2 separate regions of the Homo sapiens genome follow, and region 2 is linked to region 1. The links are contacts of gene promoters, found by promoter capture Hi-C in human tissues and cell types (Jung and others, 2019). All regions are on one chromosome and are shown on one strand. The core of a region is centred on a gene start or on the middle of the fragment in contact, and the rest is flanking DNA. Distances in the headings are between cores, read along the strand shown.

Region 1 (7,911 bases), core at 2,686-5,185:
TAGCCTTAAAGACTTCAGGGTGAAACCTCTGTCCCCTCCCTTCTCCCACCCAAGACCTCCACGGAGGGAAGGCTGGGAAGGGCAGGCCCTTTCACACCCCATCCAATTGCCACCCGTCTGCTACTCCACTTGACACCCACATGCAGCTTTGAGAACCCTGCCCACCCCTAATACTCCCGGCTCCTCCTCAGTTTGCAAGACTGAGTTGTAATGAGAATGAGTTATTAACCAAGCAAGAGTTATTTTTATAAGTTACTTCCATCTTTGTTCTAAACATTTTTATTACGAAATATTTCAATGAAAACGGAACCAACTAGAACAATTTAATATTCTCTGATCAATCGATTACAGGAAGTAACCAGAGTATTTGCAATTTGCCATTCTGATTTACAGAATTAAGTTGTACTGTTCAAAAGAAGGTACTCTGGTTTGGGATACTGGTAGTTTTATTGATACTTTTTTTTTTTGCTTTGGTTATTATTGAAACAAATAACATAATCAAAATTCCTCATCAGTAGATCAACTGCAGGAGGCCATGAAGAGATGGGGTAAATCTCTCACTTTTTTAGATAGTAGCATTCGGCTCCTTGAAAGCACCGCTCTCAGCACTGCCACCCAAACGTCTGTGTGAGCTGTTCCTCTGTCCTCACACACAGGAATCACGCACAGTCAACACTCCTACAGTTGTTTTTCAAGTTGTCTCTTCATCAAACACACCCGACCCTAAAACTGATCTTAAAACAGAAGATGGAAGTGAGTCCCAGGATCACTCATGATAAACACAGCAGAGATGCCCTCTTCCAACCACGTATTCCTTCACCTCCTCCCAGAAGAAAGAGACAGATGAGGCTTTACCTCTGCAGTGGCTCAGAGCAAGAGGACCTGGCCAGCCCCACAAGACAGAGTCCAATACCTACCCAAAGGGGTGCAACAGGCACCTGGCCTGCGCTGAGACACGTGGGACCTCTGGAAAAACATTTTTATAAATAAAGCATTGTGACAGTTTACATAATAGATCACAGCCATCAAACATCTTTTTACAACGTTACTAAAGATCAGCCACGTTTCCTACTAAAAGGTCAACATACACATAACAGCAAAACCAAGCCTCTGGCAAAACACCCCTACAAACGCTTCAGTACCCCAAAAGCTTGTCGTAAAGGGCGTCTCAGCAACCCCGGGAAGTAGCTTCACAGCTCTCTTCCTCCCTGGAGCACTGCAGCCTAGCAGCCGCCCAGACAGGCTTTCCCCACCCCTGCCCTGTCCAGAGTCTGACCACCAGCCCCGAACCTCACATACTTGGACAAGAAATCCTTTCACTTCTGAAGATTCTGCAACCCTGTCAAAGTGACCAATAGCTCCATTCAGAGAGGGGACGCAGGAGGGACCCACGCTCTCCTTGCAGTTCCTACTACTGCTGCCACCGCGCTGCTACAACTGCACGGCACGCGTCACCACAGGCCGGGGAGGAGCTCCCCTGCCCAGCACCCACCACGGCGGCTGGGGAGGGACGGGGAGCCCCAGACAAAAGCAGCAATGCTGGCCAGGCAATCTTTCCTGTCAAACTTGAGGGGCCCTGAGGAGTCGCAGAGACAGCAGACTAGACAGGAGCGTGAGAACTGCCAGGCGGAAGTGGCGTCGGAGCCCCAGGCATCCGCAGCATAGCCAGTATCGCCCCGAGACCCCTGCACGGAGCGAGAACATCTGCTGCCACCGCCCTCCCACTGCCCTCCCGAGGGGGCAGCAACCAGAGTAGCTAGGCGCTCCTTCCTTTAGGCACCAACGCAGCTCTGGAAGAGACAGTGACACACACGGTGCTGAAACCCTACTCCACAGCGTGGCTCTCAGCAAGGCTGCGCGCCGGGAGGACTCTCGCAGGATGCGCCTGACATCTCTCCCTGCCTGGTGGCAGCAGAGGAGCCCAAGCCTTCCATCCAGAGTTCCCGAGCCTCAAGGAGGGGGCGTCGCGCCCCCGTCCTCGCCTGGAGACTGAAGAGGCTCGAGCCCAGGGTCACCAAGGGGCAGAAAGGCTAAGTGGGGACACAGGCCACACGCCTAACTGCAGAACTGAGCAGGGGACAGCTGCTGCCACTCACAGCCCCAGGTACTGCCCTCAGCTCTGCAGACCCCATCGCCTGGCCCAGGGAGCCCCTGCGCTGAGCCTACCAACCCGGGCAGGGACGCATAGGGCGGGAGCAGGTAAGGACCACTCCACTAAGAGTCCTGGCTGAGCCACTCCGAAACAGACCAGCCCCAGGCACAGGCAGCCAGCGCGGACGTCAGGGACAGCGACAGGGACGCAGGCTATGCCGACTCCCTCTGGCTCACTCGCAGACAGCCACCCGGGCTGGCCCCGCACCTGGGTAGAGACTGCCCCTCGGCCTGCTCCAGCCACGGGCCTACGGGACAGATGACCTTAGCATTCCACCAGCGGAGAACTTCCTGGAACTGGCAGCTGGCGCTGCTGGGAGCCGCCCTTCCCTCCCGCCCCGTGCGGCCACTCACCTGGGGGCAGCTGGAAGTTCTGGATGTTGGTCGGGTTCTGAGGCGGCTGCGGCAAGCGGGGGGCCAGCACGGTGGGCGTCAGGGTGGCCCGAATCCCGCTGGTGGTGGCCGTGGGCGTCCGGGACAGGCTCTGGGTCACTGCGCCGGCCGCGCCTTTGGGCAGCCCGGTGGGGGTCCCGGGGGCGGGCGGCGGGACGGCGGCCGGGCTGGGCAGCGCCCCTTGCATAGTTGGCCCGATGACCATGCTGGCCGCCGTGCTGGCCGGGCCGCTGGCCGCCAGGGTCTGCGCCGCCGGGGGCGCCGCCTGCACCACCCTCTTGGGCGACTCGGCCTTGACCCCCGGCGCCGGCGCCGCAGCCGCCGCGCCGGGCCCGGGTTGGCCGCTGACCCCCGCGGGGCCCCCGGCGGCCGGGGCGGGGGCGGGGGCTGCCCCGGCGCTGCCCCCGTTCTGGGCGGCGGCGGGGGGCGGCACGGCGGGCGCGGCGGTCGGGGGTCCGGCGGGGTGGCCGGGCGGCCGGGCCAGAGTGGCGGGCGCGGGGGGTGGCGGGGGCGGGGCGGCGGCGGGGGCGGCGGGCGCGGGGGCGGCGGGGGGCGAGGGCGCGGCGGGCGCGGGGGGCGCGGCGGCGCCCACGAAGGGGGGCGTCTGGATGACAGTGCCGGGGGCGGCGGGCTTGGGCAGCGGCAGCAGCGCGGCGGGCCCGTTGTTGACCAGGCTGACAGCAGGTGCGGCGGCGTGGTGCGAGTTCAGCAGCGCGGCGCTCCCATTCAAAGTTTGCGCGGCGCCGGGGCCGGCGGGCTTGCCAGGGCCAGGGCCGGGGCCGGGGCCGGGGCCGGGCCCGGGGCCGGGGCCGGCGCGGGCGGCCAGCGCGGCGGGGCCGGCGGGCTTGGCGGGGCCGGCGGGGGCGGGCTCGGGCCCCGCGGCGACGGCGGCGGCGGCGGGCACCGGGGCGCAGGACCCCGCGCTGCCCTCGGGCGGCGGCCTCAGCTTCGCGGCGGGCGGCGCGGGCCCTGCGGGGACAAGGGGGCGGCGCGGTGAGGGGGGGCCCGGGCGCTGCGGCCCCCCGCCCCCCGGCCGCGCTCTACCTGCGGGGGGCGGCTCCGGCGCCGCTCCGGGCGCGCCCTCGGCGGGGGCGGCCGGCCCTGCGCCCGCGGCTCCGGCCGGGCTGCCGCTCACAACATGGTTCCCGAGCGCGCCGGCGGCCGCGGCCCGCACCTCGGGCGTGCGCGGCGCGAGGTGGTGGTGGTGGGCCGCGCTGGCCGCCAGCTGCGACTCCAGCGAGCCCACCAGGTCGCTCACCACTTTCTCGTCCACCTCGCTGTTGAAGAAGACCTCGTCCAGCAGATCCGAGCCCGCCGCCATCTTTTTTCCTCGGCCGCCGCCGCCGCCGCCGCTCGGGCCGAGCGCGCCTGGGCGAGGAGGAGGTTCCGACTGGGGCGGGCGCTGGGCGGGCGGGGGGCGGCGCGCGGCCGGCGGGGGGCGGGGGCGCGCGGCCGGGGGGCGGGGGAGCGGGGGTGGCGGCCCTGCGCAGGCGCGGAGACCGCGGGCGCCCGGCGATTGGCTGCGGCGCGCGCTTAAAAGGCGCGGCCAATGGCTGCGAGCGCTAGAGGCCGGGGCGCGGGCGGTCGGCCGGGGTGCGGCAGCAGCGGCGGGAAGCGCGGGGGCTGGAGCTCAGGGGCGCGGGCGCCGGGGCGGTGGCGGACGGGGAGGGGGCCGCCGGGCGGGGCGCGGGATGCGGGAACGGTGCGCTGGGCCGGGCCGAGGCGGGCGCGGGGCGGCGACGGGGCCTCGCTCTTTGTCTCGGCTCGCTCCAAAATGGCTGCGGCGGCGCTGACGGGAGCGCCGGGCGGGCGCCGTGCGCGGTGGCAGCGGCGGCGCAGGGCCCGTCCGAGGCCCGGGGAACAGCGCGCGGGGATGCCGGGGCGCCGCCGGGCGGCGCGCAGGCCCTGGAGTGGATGGGCCTGGGAGGCGGGCGGGAACGGGGAGGGGACTGTCGCAGCGCGCCCTGGGGACGGGGACCGGCGCCCGGCCCCTCCAAGCCGCCGCGGGGAAGCTGGGTCCGCCTCTGGCTCAGCCGGTCCCGGGCGGTGGGGAGGGGTCCTGCGCGCACGGCTCTTCTCGCCCTCCAATCGTGACCACCCCTGGCCCTTCCCTCCATTTTTAATCAATAAACCCAGCCGCCCCGGGCTGACTGTCCCCGCACCCAGCTGCCTTGGAGACAGGAGTGTCGTATAAGCCCGTAGGTAAGAGCACGGTGCTTGCCAGGCGCCAAACGAAGTTCCCGAGCCTGAAGCCGGCACGTCTGGAAGTAGCTTTTTTTACCTTCTGCTGGGGGAGGGGAGTAAGTTACCTAAAGTGTTCCCAAGCACCTTCTCTCTAGAAATACTTCAGTAAAAGTTCCAGTCCCCTCTTTCTGCGTGTTTTATTTTCCAACCAAAAGATGGTGTTATTGGACATTTCTAGTGGTTTTCCTTTCTCTCATTTCTTCCTAAGAGCCCAGAATAGGTTTCAGAGAGACGCTTCCTTGCCTCGGACCTCACTGGGGCCAAGAGGCCACAGGGTCAGTCTTCGCAGCTGAAGACAGCGCCGCAATAAGCAGAGACCTCGGGACGATGAATGACGTTGCTGACAAAGAAAATGATTTTTTTAATTGCTTTAACAAAGGAGACTGCTAGTCTCGAAAGCAGACCCGAACTGGACCCTTGTGCCTGTTCGAACTGTAGCCTTGCAAAGGAATGGACTTACTGATAACTGGAATACGGGACTTCACCCCAGGCTTGTTTCTCGACAGCAGCAGCAGCCAATGAGCATTGAGGACGGAGCCTAGGAGAGGTGCCTCCCCTATAGGGGAACAGTGTTTGGGGGAAATCACTGCAAACGTACAGCTGGAGTTTTGTACCTGAACTTTGGCTCCCAGAAGGCAGGAAAGGAAATGAATGAAGCAAGCTGAGTATGGCGGGGAGGGCCCCTGTGGGTACACCTACGGAGCACCTTGAGCTCAGTAGGGGGACAGTCTGAGTTTTCCAGAAAGAACAGAAATATAAAGTGATGATTAAATCTCGGGATTTTTAATTTTTGAGTGTTGACAACTAATTAGAACATTTTTAAAGCAGGTCAAAGCACAGGCAGGCTAACTGGCCCCACGCACAACTTGCAAGGTGGGGCGCACCAGGCTCACTGCACAGCCCATACCCACAGACCCCTCAGATTGGAGTCGGGGCAGAAGCAGAACGCAGGACTCGCAGGAAACAGACCAGGTTCCAAGGCCCCCAGGGTCCCAAAGGCTGGGGTAACTGAAGGTTCCCACGCTCAGGCCTCCACTCTTCAAGTCCGCTGCTACTCCACTGAGATCTGTAATGAGTCTCCTGCCATCTACGCACAGTGGTGACTCCTCTTCTCCAAGGCCCCGCCAGGAGTCTTTCATTCCAACGTGTTCGCAGGATCTTCTGGGGAACCGTCCAGCCTGGCAGCTGCAGGAACTGCGAGAAGTTAAGGGTCTGTGCCCACCTATTCCAGCTTCCCTTGCAAGGAGGGTGTTGGGCACCAGAAGGCCCTGGGGAAAGTGGGAGCCGCAGACAGCCAGGCAGCTCTTCTATGTCTGGGGTTTGCAGGAGCACTGCCTTCCGGGGGGGGGGGGAGGGGAGGCGGGTGAGGACAGCACGTGACTTCCCCTCCTAATGTTCATGTGGTGGGGAGTCACCCTGGGGGCCTCCCGCCAAATTTTAGTATCTCTGTGATTTTAGTTGTTGCCCCAAGCAGTTAGGACTTGTGTAGTTTGAAAGAAAAATCTCACCCAGCATAAAAAGAGAAAAGGGGGAATTGTAACAAATGTTAATCATAAGCACTGTTTCAACCCGGAAAAATGTTTGCTGCCAGGCTGTGGGCAAAGAGGTGGCCTCGGCGGCTGGCAGCTCAGTGGGCCTTCCAAGTTTACTAAGCAGGGTCTTGTATTTTTAAATAAAATAGAGCATCAGACACGCTCACTTAAATATAAAAAATAATAAAAACAAGTTTTGAATTAAGTTTAAGACACATTAAGAATAAAACAAATCTAAGAATAAAGGGAATCAGTGATTTCCAAGCTGCAGGCTGTGTGAAAGTTCTGTGGTGTTTGTTAGGTGACCTGTGCTTTTATTGTCTGCCTGACAGCCCTCATCATAAAACAATTTTTTAAAAAAAAAGCCAGCGCCAGCTCACGCCTATAACTGCAGGGTTTTAGGAGGCTGAGGCAGGAGGATGGTCTGAGCCCAGGAGTTCAAGACCAGCCTGGGCAACAAAGCAAGACACGGTCTCTACTAAAAACAGGTTTTTTTAATTAGCCAAGCGTGGTGTTGTGCACCTGTGGTCTCAGCTATTTGGGAGATTGGAGCAGAAGGATCACTTGGGCCCTGGAGTTCAAGGCTACAAGTGAGCTGTGATCGTGCTGCTATGATTGTGCCACTGCGCTCCAGGCTGGGCGACAGAATGAGACCCCTTCCCCCCACCCACTCCGCAAAGAAAAAGGCGTGCAGCTAGATAGCAGCTGAATGTTTTTGGGGTGTCCACCAGCCCCGCTGGCAGCGTTCGTCAGTCTTGCAGACTCAGGGGGGATGTCTCTGGTCACAAATGAATCCACATCCCAGGGAGAAACTTGTGGCCACCTAATTGCTCTGTAAATGCAGAGGGATGCGTTTCTCAAGGCTGCCTTAACGAATGATCACAAACGTATGCAACTTCAACAACAGGTGGATTCTCACAGCTGTAGAAGCCAGAACCAGGGTGTGGGCAGGGCTGCACTCCCTCTAGAGGCTCTAGGGGAGGATCCTTCCTGCTTCCTCCAGCTTCCGGTGGCTCCAAGCATTCCTGGGCTTGTGGTCACATCACTCCAGTCTCTGTCTTCTCCTGACCTTCTCCCTGTGTGTCTGTGTCCTCTCCTTTTATAAGGATACCAGTCATTGGATTCAAGACCTCCCTAAATCCAAAACGATTTCATCATGAGATCCTTTACCAATTATGTCTGCAAAGCCCCTGCTTCCAGATAAGGTCACATCCTCATGTTCTGGTGGATATGGTTTGAGGGGACACTATTCAAGCTAGTATACGGGATGGCTACTTACTGTTCACTTACAGGGAGACCTTTGGTAAGAGGCACTTAGCCTGGCCCCTTCACCCTGGGACACAAGTCTGGGGAGGCTGGAGCCTGAGACAGTAGCCTGTGACTTGAGAGTTCCGGAGTAGAGAAGTCCACTGGCCAAGACACCTCCAACCCCTGCCCTGCTTTCCCAAGAAAATGAGGATTCTCAGATCTGCTCGGCCAGGACTCTCTCGCCAGGGTCAGGGCTTGGCCAGGCACTAGCATTAATCAGGCCTGACACGTGATCAAGGGCCAGGTGGAGCCTGTTGTACAGATGAGGGGGGACTGGAGCTTG
Region 2 (7,911 bases), core at 2,170-4,669, 34 kb after region 1:
AAAAAAAATTAGCCAGGCATGATGGTACACACCTGTAGTCCCAGCTACTCAGTAGGATGAAGTGGGAGGATCGCTGTAGGTCAGGAGTTCAAGACTAGCCTAGGCAACATAGCGAGACACAGTCTCCACCAAAAAATTAAAAATTAGCCAAACATGGTGGTGTATGCCTGTTGTCTCAGCTACTCGGGAGGCTGAGGCAGAAGGATTGCTTGAGCCCAGGAGGTGGAGGCTGCAGTGAGCTGTGACCATGCCACTGCATTGCAGCCTGGGGGACAGAGCAAGATGTTGTCTCAAAAAAGACAAAAACCCAAAACCAGACAGAAAGCCTTGCTCTGGAATGGATGAGGGCCAGAATCTGCTCATTAGGAGCCTGGTACTGGGCCTCTATCCTGGACTTGAGTTGCAGGAGAAAGGACCAAAGCACCAAGTTGAAACATAGAACAGGTAATCCGAGACCTCGCCGGACACATGCACATGTCTGCACTCTCACGCGTGGTGCACACGCTGCACACCCTTGCATACACACACATGAGCACGCTCATGCTCACACATGCCCTGGCCCACCGCCCCACCTCGACCTCTCCCTCTGGGACCCCAGTCCTGCCTCCTCTGCTACACCCCCTCCCCACCACACTCACCAGCCCTCCCCTGGGGGCCTGCGGCAGGGACCACAGGGGTTTCCTAAGGTCCCCTCATTCTTCGCCATCTGAGGCCCTCTCAGATCTGCTGGCAGACATTTCGGGGGAAAGAGGAGGGGCCAGGAGCTCCTAGCAGCTCCCCCTCTGCAACCTTGACTGGCTCTGCAGACACCTCCTAGGTGCCACGATGGGCCGGGCACGTTCCAGGCGCCAGGGACACATTCCCACCATGCAGGGAGACAGGAGACAAGCACAGTTGTGCCGGCAGGAGGAGCCAGCAGGGCTGAGAGGGGGAGGACAGGAGCCAGGGAGGGCTTCCCTGAGGTGTCATGGGCACAGACACTGTCAGGCGTGGGGAGGGATGCACTCTGCAGGGGGATCTGCACTGCCCAGGCCAGGAGCCGAGAAGTGGATCCAGGAAGGGCTGGGCCCTGCGGTTACCTGTCACCCAGAATGGCACTGGGCGCCTCTTCTGTCCCCGCCGGCTGTGTGGCCCGAGGCGGGCCCTGGGGCTTGGGTTTCTCATCCATGCAGTAGGGACAGTGTCCCACCTCTGCGTCCCTCATGGGGCATGGCAAGGACCGGGGGAATGGAGGGCCTGCCTGGTCGGATCAGAGAGCAGGGTGGGGGGTGGCGGCGGTCTCAAAGAGGAAGGAAGGCCCCTAGGCTGGGGAAGTCGTGTTGATGCCACCACGGGCACAGCCAAGGACAAAATGCCCTGGGGGCCTCACGGGACCAGACCCTTGGGTCCTCCCACCAGGGGTGGGAGACCATCCTGTCCATGACCACGTCCCACGACATGACTTCAGTTCCCGCCTGTCCTCACACTGGGGACTCCCCCTGCTCACTGCACCCACTGTCCAGTGATGGGTAATTTGAGCCCCAGCAGAACAGTTGTCAAGAGGCTGCTCCGGGAAGGCCACGCAGGCACCACACTCAGGGCAAACGTAGTGGAGTAGGGGGTGGGAGGCGATTGCGGACATGGGCATGAGGGTTCCCAGGAAGAGGGTGGGCATGAGGCAGGCATCTGCATGCTTTTGGGGGGGCATGGCTCTGAAGGGGCAGGTGCAGGTGGGAGAGGGTGTGGGGAGAGAGAATTCTGTGCCCCCATGCAGGGGGATGGGTGTTGCCAGAGGCAGGGTGGGGGCACCGCGGACAGTCGGGCGGAGGGCACATTCCAGGAAGCGTTTTACACACAGGCAGACAGGCCCCACTGCAGGGAAATGGAAGATGGGAAGGGCAGCCCATGGCTTTTCTGGTGTCAGAATGGATTTCTGAAACACAGAGTGAACACAGTCATCCGAAAAGCCCAGGGTTCAATGTGCTGGAGCCCAGATCCGTGGGAGCCCAGGGTGGGGACCTGGGCCTGGGGCTGGGGCTCTTTGGACACTGGCCAGGAGGAAGCAGGAGAGGAGCCAGGTAGGGCCCCGACGGCCTCACGGGCTGCTCAGGACAGACCCTGCAGCCAGGACGAGCGTAGGGCTCCAGCAAAGCTGGACCTGCAGCGTGCCGTTGGGGAGGGGCCTGCCTGGGGTCCACTGTTCCCTCAGTCACAGGCTCCCCAGCGTCCCTTCCCGCACCAGAGTGAACGGCAGGAAAAGATGCTGCAGCGGCGCCCGGCCTGCACCTCCTCCCAGGTGAATCTTGTGGAAAAGGAGATGTAGGCCTAGACAAATCTTTTGTTTTAGAACATTTCCTTCTTGAAAAAAAGAAAAAGAAAAAAGAAACCAAAAAAACCCTTGTCTTCCAGGGAGATCAAAAGGTGATGGTGAAGGAGTCCCGCAAGCTGGGAGTTTAAAAATGGAACAGGCCGGGCGCGGTGGCTCACGCCTATAATCCCAGCACTTTGGGAGGCCGAGGCGGGTGAATCACGAGGTCAGGAGTTCAAGACCAGCCTGGTCAACATGGTGAAACCCCATCTCTACTAAAAATAGAAAAAATTAGCTGGGCACGGTGGTGGGCGCCTGTAATCCCAGTGACTCAGGAGGCTGAGGCAGGAGAACCGCTTGAACCTGGGAGGCGGAGGTTGCAGTGAGCCGAGATTGTACCACTGCACTCCAGCCCAGGTGACAGTGGAGGCTCCATCTCAAAAAAAAAAAAAGAAGAAAAAAGAAAAAAATAGCACAGAACTGGGTCAGGTGGGTTTGTCCTGCCACAGACAGGGTGCTGCTTAGAACCAACCAGCTTTCCCCAGAACTCACCTCCTGCCACTTCATGGTGGAGGGGGTGGCTGCTGGGTTGGACCCAACTCCACCATCTTCCAGCTGGTGAGGATTTCCACGCCATTCCAGGTCACCCCCCGACCTGTTGGGAGCCGGCGTCTTGGACAGGGGAAAGCTGAACAGGGCAGTGAAGAACAGTCTAGAAGCATGTTCTTCACTTCAAGACCCAGGACCCCATGGACATCCTGCCTACAGATCGCCCCACTAGCCCTGCTTCAGTCACTGGGCATCTGGCAGCACTCGATAGGTGCCATGTGGTACTGCCTGCTCTGTGGGTGCAGCTGCCATGCCGAGGCCGTCCCCTCTGTCCTCTCCAGGCTCTCCTGTAACCTCCCAGCTCTGCTCTCCCATGCCCTCCCTCAACCCAGCCCTTCCGTGGGGGCTCCTCCTGGCTCTCCCCGGCCTGTCCCTCCACACCCCCTTTCAGACCCTCACAGCTGCCTCCCCACACCAGCCTTCAGGGGACTCTGCAGCCCACCTCTCTGCCCACTCCTTCCTCCTAGATTCTCACTGAAGCTTCCCCCGCTCTCCCTAGACCCGCAGCTCATACCCCCGGCTACTTATTAGAATGCCTGGCAAGCTTGGATAAAACCCCATACTCAGCCACACCCAGGCCCATTAAACCACACACCTAGAGTTGGCCTGGAAGCCTCGAGGTACATCCAGGGTGCAGCAGGTAGGAGGCCTCAGTCCCAGACCAAGGAAGGAGCCCTTACCATAGAGTGCCCAGCCCCACCCCAGCCCCGATGCTCACCAGCGTGGGGATTGTATGTTGACCCACACTCAATGAGTGTCTGTGGGATCAGTACATCAGTGATGGGGGGATCAGTCCATCAACAGATCAATGAATGAACCAATGACTGGATGATCTGAGTGGCCACTGCTATTGGCTGAGACGGCTTCTCTCAGGTTTGTCCTCACCACCTGCTTGCTGTCTGAGCAGCCCACCCTCCTCCGTGCACCCCTGGACCCACCTCTGCTTCCCATGGGTACACCCTTGCCTCTGATACAGACGGAAATCCTGATGGCGACAGAGCTGACTCTCCTAAGGCATCCTTTGCATCTGCATCAAAACGATCTGAGGCCACAGATGAGGCCACGAAGAGAAGAACGTGGCCCTGCCTGCTCTGGATTCCCAGCCCCACGGCCCTGCTGTCCTGCTGCTGCTTCCCTGCACTTCCTCTGCTCACCCGCCCGGCAGAGGGTGGTCCCCTGGGCCCACGCAGGCCTGAGCAGCGCACTCCTCCAGGCTTTGGGTGTAAGTCGTTCTTGCGGTCAGTTTATCCTGTGTCTGCCTGTTCCCATCCCAAACCTCCCCAGGGACTCTAGAAAGCGTGTCCTGGGCCACCTTTCCACGTGGGGAGCAAGAAAGCCATCAGCCCCATCCTCCCAGGGGCTCTCATGGGCAGCCTGGCCCTGACTCCCCAGGCGGCTGCTCTTCACACTGCTGTCCATGGGCAACGAGCTCCCACACCTCTGTTGGGGTTTGTCCTGAGCGGAACCTGGGTCCCCCGACTGCCCTCCCCGCTCACTCCCTGCACATTCTCTAGGAGTTCACTGAGAAAGGTGCCTGGAGGCCTCCTCAGTCTTAGGGTCCCCCGGGGGACGAGGATGCAGAGTAGCTTCCCACGGGGCTGTGAAGGTTTTGCCCGCTGCCGACATTGTCCACCTGCAGCCACCTGAGAGGCAGTGCCAGTCAGATCACCAGCTCTTTCGTGGGACTGGGACCTGCTCTGCCAAGAGTTGGCTTCATGTCCTGTGTTCAGAAATTTCATGATGCCATGCCGGCCTTCCTTCACTCATTCAACCTGGAGCCTCACGTCCACATTTTAGGATGTTTCCTCATAAATCACTTGCTTGGCGATGCTCTCCATTCTGTTTTCTCTTTCTGGAGCTCTTATTAATGTTTTCTTCCCTATTTTTCATTTCATTTTCTCTACTTTATGAAAAAATTATCTTTTTTTTTTTTGAGACGGAGTCTCTCTCTGTCACCCAGGCTGGAGTACAGTGGCACAATCTCGGCTCATGGCACAATCTCCACCTCCTGGGTTCAAGTGATTCTCCTGACTCAGCCTCCTGAAGAGCTGGGATTACAGGTGCCCACCACCATGCCCAGCTAATATTTGTGTTTTTAGTAGAGACAGCGTTTCACCATGTTGGCCAGGCTGGTCTCGGACTCCTGACCTCAGATGGTCCACCTGCCTTGGTCTCCCAAAGTGCTGAGATTACACATGTGAGCCACCACGCCCCGCCTGAGAAATTTATCTTTTATGGAAGTTTTCATTTGTGCTTTTTTTTTTTCATTTCCAAGAGCTCTTTCTTAATTTCTCACTGTTCCTTTTTTATTACATCCTGTTCTTAGGTCATGGATGTGCTGTTTTCTCTTCTCTCTCCAAGGGTATCAGCAATAAGGTTTTTTCTTTTTTATATTTTTTGTTCCTCAGGTTGCTACTCTTTCCCCCAAGCTCCCTTCTTTGGTGCATGGGGATGTGGGATCTGTCTTTCGTGTGGGGTCTTTTTCTTCTTCAAAGTCCAGTGACCCTTGGGGTCCACGTGTCTTCATGAGAGGCTCAAAAGTGCTGAGGTGGAGCAGTGTGGGTGTAGGGGGATGAGGGGCTGCTCCAGGGTGGACCTCAGAGGGGGAAGCAGCAAGGTCTGAATATGTGGTCAGGGTTCTTAAGAGGCCAGCGCAATTCCACAGAGCCCCCACCTCCCACCCGGGAGACACATCAGGCTGTTGGCACTCGGGGAGGGAGCAGAGTAAAGGGCTCAGGCCACCTTTCAGGATGTGGCTGTGACCTGATCTCCTGGCCCTCCTCAGTGCCTTGCTCTCTCACAGGCTGTGCCTACCCCTGGCCCCAGCCCAGAACCTCCCAGCCCTGACTCCTGAGAGCAGCACCTGGACCCCTGTCTTCTGCCTGCATCTGTAGGAAAAGCAGTCTCCTAGGGGTGGGTCTGAGCTCCCAGTCCACCCCATGCTCCACCTTCAGAGCTGCCTGGCCTTCTGGATGGAGTCCCTCTGGGGTCCTGGGGATTCCCCACCCTGTGTGCCTGGGCTCTGCCTCTCCCTGGTCTGCCCAGTTGGTACTGCCCAGCTGTCTGTCTTCCAGCTGAGCCAGAGAGGAGATGCCCACAGATAAGCAGGGTCAGCCGTGTCCTCTGTGGTCCTCCCGTGAGTCTAGGGAGGGGATGCCCCAGAGGAGCAAGGTCAGCAGTGTCCCCTCTGTGGTCCAAGATCCAGGGAGAAGCGTGTGCTCTGCACGCTGTGCTGAACCAGAAGTCACCCCCTTACATTTGACTCTGTCTTCAATGTATTTTTAGAAGGAAACTGTAACCACTGCTGCTTCGAATGTGCTGTCACCATCATAGCCACCTCCCCTACAAAGACACAAGCAGGAGCCAGAGGCTGGGAAGCCTGGCAACCTCGAGAAATGGCACCTGGGATGTCACTTGCACAAGAAAAAGAAGACAGAGTGTGCCCACCTGGCCCAAGAGCTGAAGCCCGGAAGTGGGGTTGGGTGACTGGGCCAGGAGCCTCTGCCCTCGGTCCTCCCACCTCGGGAAGAATCCGGGGCACAGTGTTATGGGGCAGTTGTAGGAGTAGCCGACAAACAAAATCAGGAGACTTCTCGTCACATTCAGACTTCCAGCTTGCTATAGGTTGGATGTTCATCCCCTCCAAATCTCCTGTTGAACTGTGGCTACCAGTGCTGGAAGTGGGCCTGGCGGGAGGTGTCTGGGTCCTGGGGACAGATCCCTCGTGGCTTGGTGCTGTCCTGCCATAGTGAGTTCTCCAAGATCTGATTGTTTAGAGGCGTGTGGCACCGCCCCGCACTCTTTCCTGTTCCTCTTCTCGCCGGGTAATGTGCCTGCTCCTGCTTCCCCTTCTGCCTGAGTGGAAGCTCCCTGAGGACCCCCGGAAGCCGAGCAGCTGGCGATGCCATGCTTGTACAGCCTGCAGAACCGTGAGCCAATTAAACTTATTTCTTTATATTACCCAGCCTCAGGTATCTCTTTATAGCAATGCAAAAAAAAAAAAAAAAAGAAACAACAACAAAAAAAACCCCACAGCCTAACACACAGCTCCTCTTAAAAACCAGCTCTGGGCCAGGCACAGCGGCTCACGCCTATAATCCCAGCACTTTGGGAGGCCAAGGCAGGTGGATCACCTGAGGTCAAGAGTTCAAGACTAGCCTGGCCAACACGGTAAAACCCTGTCTCCACTAAAAATACAAAAAATTAGCTGGGCATGGTGGTGCATGCCTGTAATCCCAGCTACTCGGGAGGCTGAGTCAGGAGAATCACTTGAACCCAGGAGGCGGTGGTTGCAGTGAGCTGAGATCGCACCACTGCACTTAGCCTGTGCGACAGAGTGAGACTCCGTCTCAAAAAAAGAAAAAACAGCTCTGGAGCCGAGTTCCCACAAAGCAGCATTGTCTGTCTGCTTAGAGCTGGGGCTTCTTGACAAGCCACTTCATTTTTCTGAGTGTCAATGTATTTATCTGTAAAATAAAAATTTACTTTTAATTTTTAAAAAATGGCCTGGGGTGACAACTGCCCCACCCCCTGGGGTAGGATCTGTGCCCCTCAAATCTGCCCGCTCCCCAGCATTAGCACCGTTCCTACTAGTGAGTCTATGACCCCTGGGCCGAGGGAGTTAGGGTGACTGTGGGGCAGCTCTAGGCCCCTTCTCCCCTCCACTGTGCAGGGGCAGCCTCGGAGCCCTTCACTCCTCAGGCCTGGGCTGGTGCCCCTCCGTGCCTGCTGTGGGAGCTGGGGACGCATGCCACCCTCACGGGGTAGGCATGCCAGCCGGGGAGCCAGAAAGAACATGAGGCAAAGATGGGTTGAGTGCAGGGTGGACCCAGGGTGGCAGGGAGGAGCTGCTTGCCATTTGAGCCGGGTGGCCTCTCCGAGAGCAGAGGAGGCTGAGGCCCAGCCACGTGGGGTCTGGAGGAAGAGTCTCCAGGCAGGGGCAGCAGATGAGAGGGCACCAAGGCAGGAGTGTCCTCAGGGGACAGCAGGGGGACCCGAGTGGCACCTCAAGGGGG

Evidence for each region. The method cuts DNA at HindIII sites, captures the fragments that hold promoters and counts their contacts. A contact is called where the count stands out against the background at its distance.
Region 2: a fragment that was not itself captured here is called in contact with the fragment with the promoter of TAF4 in region 1 in 1 of the 25 tissues and cell types used here (thymus).

The regions. Positions count from the first base shown.
Region 1 is chr20:62,061,946-62,069,856 of GRCh38, forward strand. It overlaps TAF4 (TATA-box binding protein associated factor 4), which reads right to left and starts at 3,936. Exons shown (of 15, transcript NM_003185.4): 1 at 2,506-3,936. The coding sequence starts at 3,865. MIR3195 (microRNA 3195) reads left to right here and starts at 2,857; the gene lies at 2,857-2,940. It overlaps LOC105372705 (a long non-coding RNA gene), which reads left to right and starts at 4,509. Exons shown (of 2, transcript XR_936960.3): 1 at 4,509-4,746; 2 at 4,997-6,590. RefSeq lists enhancers at 1,626-2,139, 2,140-2,654, 2,655-3,168, 3,169-3,683, 4,712-5,225 and silencers at 3,617-3,706, 3,967-4,076, 4,337-4,716. The HindIII fragment of the contact is 19,572 bases long and covers 1-7,911 here.
Region 2 is chr20:62,096,069-62,103,979 of GRCh38, forward strand. LOC105372706 (a long non-coding RNA gene) reads right to left here. Exons shown (of 3, transcript XR_936963.2): 3 at 5,075-6,815. Among named protein-coding and RNA genes, the nearest start is that of LSM14B, 22 kb to the right of the region's middle. The HindIII fragment of the contact is 5,244 bases long and covers 798-6,041 here.